Linked DNA regions of Homo sapiens: region 1 is linked to region 2. Evidence: promoter capture Hi-C in human tissues and cell types (Jung and others, 2019). All regions are on one chromosome and are shown on one strand. The core of a region is centred on a gene start or on the middle of the fragment in contact, and the rest is flanking DNA. Distances in the headings are between cores, read along the strand shown.

Region 1 (2,875 bases), core at 76-2,575, 35 kb after region 2:
ACTGGAAAGGTTAACACGTTAGACTATCATTCAGCAGGAAGCAATGTTCTGAAGAAGTGAGGCTAAAGATTGGAAGATTTTGAGGAAAAAGATGGTGGAAAGCCTGTTGATTTACTGTATATCTGGCTCACATTTATATTCCCCAAATGTAATCTTTGTTAAGAGAATGTGTATACAGGGCAAACAGCACCCAGAACAGGACAGGAAGGAGGGGAAAAGGCCTGTAATACAGTTGACATTCAATAAATACTGGCTATTACTATTAACCTCTCTAAAGGTCAATGGTCAACTGCTCACTGATACCACCTCTAGTAAACTCATTATTTCATCGATTCTAAGACAAGCATTTTTTCAACATCTCCAAAATTAAGATGTGAATGGCAACCAGTGGCATGTCAGAGTTAAATTCTGACATGTTTTAGCTCCCTTGGTGGTATATAAAGTTGTGACTTGCAACTGAAGGCCTCTAAAATGCGATTAAGTCCACAGCAAAGAACTGGCGTGTGCAGGAACTGTCCGTGGTGCTGACTGAGCACAGAGGACTGGGCCTGCCTAGGGCAGAGGTGGGGCTCACAAGGGAGATTTTAGAACTACGAAGCATCCCTATCTGTGGTTGTTTTCAAACCACAATTCCTTCCCACTGGCTTGCTGGTGCCTGAAATTCCACCCTCAAAGAATCATCTTCCCACATAAAGACAGGAATTTCCATTTATCGAGTTGAACCAGAGCCTATGAGAGGTGCTCAGCACTCATCATTTCATGTAATCTTCACAACCACCAGTGAAGGTAAGTATTGTCTTCATTTTCAGAAGGGAAAGCTGAAGCTCAGGGGTTAATGAACCTGCCCATAATTACAAAGCTGGCATGTGGGATGTGATCCTGGTTCAACGCAGGCCAGAGTGCAATTTTTGCCCTTTACGCTGCTCTACACTGGAGGGAGGGATAAGTGCCTCAGACCTTTTTCCAAGAGGATTTGAAGAGGAAAGAGGAGAGATCATAAAGACACAGAGATGAAGTGAGTGAAAGCAAGAGGGGCAAAAGGCACATGATAAGGATTTGAGAACCCTAGAGAGGGAGGGGAAAGATTTTGTGAGAATCAACTGGGTAATAAATATGGAATGTGCTTTGTAACTCTAAAGGGTTATGCCCCTGGAAGGAAACGTTACTCTCACTTATCCAACAAAATATACATTTATTGAGTTCATTTCCTATGCCATGCTGTTCTTGTCTCTGGGGATTTGAATAAGATACAGTCTTTGACCTTAAGAAACTTACAGGTAGTAGAGTGTGGGGGGGACATGAAACAGATAAGTAATTATTATTCATTCAACACACTCTTTACTAATTGCCTATTCAGGGCCAGATCCTGTGCGGTAGACTCATAACATAGATGAATTAAACCCAGACCTTGCTGAAACTCCCAGTCTACCAGAATAGATAGGCAAGTAAAGGGGCAATTGTGCAATAATTACAACGTAGCATAATGTAAGGGCAGAGATATACACAGAGTATTATGGGAGCTGAGGAGAAGGGTAATTAATGCAGCACTGGAGTTAGAGGCACGGTCTGGGTTGTAAGCAGAATTGATTCAATGCTGAATTATACTTGATTGCAAATAAAATCAGAAGATTTCATTGTACATGCAAGCACTACCTTCCAGTACAACTGAAGGTTATACTGACAAATAAAAACATGGAGATAGAGTGAAGAGGAAAATGTGGAACCAAATGAAAACTGAAGGCAAAAAGTTCCAGATGCAGAGTAAATGCATTTGGGGTTGGGGAGGTCCTATGCTGAGCAGGGGTGGTCAGGGGAAAGTCATTTACTCTCCTCGAGCCAATGTGGAAAGACTTTCTAAAGAAGAGGCATTTCCACAATCATTGGAAGGAAGACAATTCACAGTCCCACAAAAAGCTGTTTTTCCTCAGGAAGCTATTTCCATCAGCATTTGGGACAAGCTAAACAAGCCTTGGAAGGAACTGGGTTGTGGGCAAAAGGTAGAGTCTATGGCCCCATATGGCACTGGGAAGCTACACAATCCACACAGCATTCAAGACTTCCAGGATTTGCCCCAAACCTATACTACAAGTCTGCCATGATGCACATACCAGGTGTTCTATCCACACGGAATTACTCATCATTCACCAAATACAGCCCACGTACTTCCGTCTTCTTAGGAGAACAGGCTCTGGAGCCAGAAAAACTGAGTTTGGGACTTGAAGCATGCCTCTGCCACTTTCTGAGTAAACTAAATAAACTTACTGAACTAATCTGAGTCTAAGTTCCCCTGCAAAACAGGAAAAATGATAGAATCCACTCCACCTATTGTTGTAAGGATTAAATGTACTAGTAAGCTCTTATTAGGTTATGCTGCAATAACAAGTTACCCCCAAATTTCAGTGGCTTACAGAACAAAGTTCTTGTTCATACTTAACATACCTTATTTTTCTGAGATGGACTTTTGCTCTGTGGCCTATACTGGAGTGCAGTGGCACAACCTTGGCTCACTGCAACCCGTCTCCCAGGTTCAAGTGATTCTCCTGCCTTAGCCTCCCAAGTAGCTGGGGTTACATGCATGCACCACCATGCCTGGCTAATTTTTTTTTTCCTTTTTGTATTTTTAGTAGAGATGGGGTTTCACCATGTTGGCCAGTTTGGTCTCAAACTCCTAACCTCAAATGATCTGCCTGCCTCAGCCTCCCAAAAGTGCTGGGATTACAGGCATGAACCACCATGCCCAGCCATACTTAACATACTTTACGAGTTAGCTATGGTTCTATCCCACGAACTCATCTGGGACCCAGGGTGAAGGGGCAGGCCCTATCTGGGACAAGCTGGTCTCATGGCAGAGGAATGATGGAACCATGAGGGAATT
Region 2 (2,871 bases), core at 39-2,538:
TCTAAAGACTTTAGTTCTCTGCATTCAGCCGTCTGGTGGGGGAAAGAGATGGAGCACGTGTAGGGCAGGGTTTTATGGGCCAGGCCTGGAAGTGGCATATGTCACTTCTGCCCATGTTCCATGAGCTAAAGCTTGGTCACATAGACCCTGCTAAGTGCAAGAAAGGCTGGGCAATGTGGCCAGCTGGGCGCCCAACTCCACCTCCCCGGTGCATCCCGGATCCCCTCATTTCTCTCCATCTTCACACATTTGGACTACACTAGCCTTCGAACTGGCCTCCACTCCTAGCCACCATCCCTTTTCCCCATGACAGCCAGGGGCTCTTTAAAAAATATGAATCAGATCATTGTGGTGGTGTTGCGTGTGTGTTTGTTTGCCTGTGTTTGTAATACAGCCTTTCCATGGCTTTCAATAAACCCACATAAGGGCTTGTAAGACCCTGTGTGAAGTTGCCTCTTTGCCTTCCTTCTGCTCCCCCAAAGTATCTGCCCCCCAGTTCTCTGGGCTCCAGCGACACCGGCTCCTCTGCTATTCTGGCTGCCAAGTCATGCTCAGTTCTGTTTTAAGCACCACCTTAGATGGTGGGGTTCACCTTCCCCAAGAAACTATCCCTTTTCCTTCTTTCTCACTCCTGTCTTAAATTAGTTTCTTGTTTGTTAGCTGGCCCTCCTCACTAGGATATCACTTTTACTTACAACAGGAATGTTGTTTGCACCAGTAGGTGCTTGGTAAATATTTGTCAGAGGATTGACTGACTGAATGAAAGAAGGAAGGAAGGAGAGAAGGAAGGGAAGAAGAGATGAAGGGACGAAGGGAGGAAGGGAGGGACGGAGGGAGGAAGGGAGGGACGGAGGGAGGAAGGGAGGGACGGAGGGAGGAAGGATGGGAGGGAAGAAGGGAGGGAGGGATGGGGAAAGGAGTGAAAGGAAGGAAGGAAGGAAAGGAGGGAGGGAGGGAGGAAGGGAGGGGAGGGGGGAGGGGAGGGAGGGAAAAAGGAAGGAAGGAAGGACGGAAGGAAGGACGGAAGACTGGCACGAGGTCACAACATGAGTTAGTGGCGGGAACAGGACTTCTGCAGGCCCGGGGTTTGGGCCTTTGCTTCAGATCTCACTATTCACAGACACATGAACCCCGGGCAGGCGAGTGGGAGGCGGACAGGGGAGCGGTTCTTCCGGCCCCCACCCGTGGCGATCCCAGCCTCCAGGTTCCCGGCAGTCGCCCCGCCTCGCCCGTCACAACCCTGCCGCGTGGGGCCGGGGTTGGAGGGGGCGGAGCGCGCGGTCCGGGCACACGGAGCAGGTTGGGACCGCGGCGGGTACCGGGGCCGGGGCGCCATGCGGAGGCCGAGCGTGCGCGCGGCCGGGCTGGTCCTGTGCACCCTGTGTTACCTGCTGGTGGGCGCTGCTGTCTTCGACGCGCTCGAGTCCGAGGCGGAAAGCGGCCGCCAGCGACTGCTGGTCCAGAAGCGGGGCGCTCTCCGGAGGAAGTTCGGCTTCTCGGCCGAGGACTACCGCGAGCTGGAGCGCCTGGCGCTCCAGGCTGAGCCCCACCGCGCCGGCCGCCAGTGGAAGTTCCCCGGCTCCTTCTACTTCGCCATCACCGTCATCACTACCATCGGTGAGCCGCCCGGAGCCTCCCTCCGCGCCCGCTCCAGCCCCAGCCGTCCCGGGGCGCCTCTGGGTTTCGGTCCCACCTCTGCCCCCGCCCAGCTGAGCTACTTTGGACGGGTCATTTCGGCTCACCGAGCCTCCCTCATCTCCTTCGCCTCCCTCGTCTCCCTGGTCTCCTTTGCCCCCCTCTGCTGAATGGAGCTGTCAGCCCACGCAGGCAGGGACGGGAGGAATCAGTAAATCGAGTTTGCCAAAAGGCTGACCCAGGAGTGCTCAGAAAACGTCCAAGGGGCTTGGAGATAGGTGAAGCGGGGCTGGGAGACCAAGTGGCTGGATTTGCTTTTCCTTGCCTGGTTGCCTCACACTTGCTGTGTGACCTTAGACGAGTTGCTCAACCTCTCTGAGCCAGAGTTTTCTCTTCTGTAAAATAGTGTCGCTAATCGGCCTTATCTCAGGGCTGTGGTGAGAGTTATTATTCAGGAGACAGACTATGCACAGACAAGGCCTGTGCTAAAACATGACACATACAGAGCACTACAAAGAAAAGATCATTTTTTTATTATTGCAATTGTTATTGTTACCCCATGAGAATGGGGACCCAGTCTGTCTTAGGGACTGCTGTATGACCCGTGCCTAGCATGCAGTAGATGATCAATAAATACTTGTTAAAGGAATGACTGATAACCACAGGCTCTGGACTCTGCCCTCAGGGATGCAGAGCAGTTCCTTTGGAGCATCTGGACCACCAGCTGTTGCCATGACTACCATCTGGCTGGTACCTGCTGAGCCTAAACCTGGGGGAACAGGAAGGAGAGAAGTGGGCTCTGCAGGGCTCCAGGCTTGGTGCCAGCCACTCCCCAGGCTCCAGCTGTGAACGTCCCGGCACCCCCCCTGGGGCTTGGATCACCAGTCCGAAAGCCAGTGCCTTGGAGAAAGTTTCCCCATAATGCTCTTGCAAGTGAATATGAGCTGTGGTTTTTGCAGTGGAGTTAAAAGTATGAGTTCTGGAATCACAGAGACTGGAGTTCTGGTCTCATCTCTATTGCCACCTGCCTTCTCTGGCAATTGATTCCACCTGTCCAAGCCCTGGTTTCCCCAAAGGCAAAATGCAATTGTTCCTACCTCACTGGGTGACTGCCAGGTTTCAGTGAGGTCAAGCATGTAACATGCTTGGCACAGTGCCTGAAGCCAAGTAGGCACTATTCATTTGTAATAATTCATTATTTGCCAACGTGGCTCCAGCTCTTATTCAGCTCTTTTG

What was found. Contacts are between HindIII fragments. The study calls those that stand out against the background at their distance.
Region 1: a contact is called between a fragment that was not itself captured here and the fragment with the promoter of KCNK15 in region 2, in 2 of the 25 tissues and cell types used here (H1 embryonic stem cells and psoas muscle).

The regions. Positions count from the first base shown.
Region 1 is chr20:44,779,835-44,782,709 of GRCh38, forward strand. All of the region lies in intron 1 of RIMS4 (regulating synaptic membrane exocytosis 4), which reads right to left. Among named protein-coding and RNA genes, the nearest start is that of RIMS4, 29 kb to the right of the region's middle. The HindIII fragment of the contact is 7,758 bases long and covers 1-2,875 here.
Region 2 is chr20:44,744,577-44,747,447 of GRCh38, forward strand. It overlaps KCNK15 (potassium two pore domain channel subfamily K member 15), which reads left to right and starts at 1,289. Exons shown (of 2, transcript NM_022358.4): 1 at 1,289-1,617. The coding sequence starts at 1,335. It overlaps KCNK15-AS1 (KCNK15 and WISP2 antisense RNA 1), which reads right to left and starts at 1,651. Exons shown (of 5, transcript NR_132377.1): 1 at 1,389-1,651. The HindIII fragment of the contact is 14,439 bases long and covers 1-2,871 here.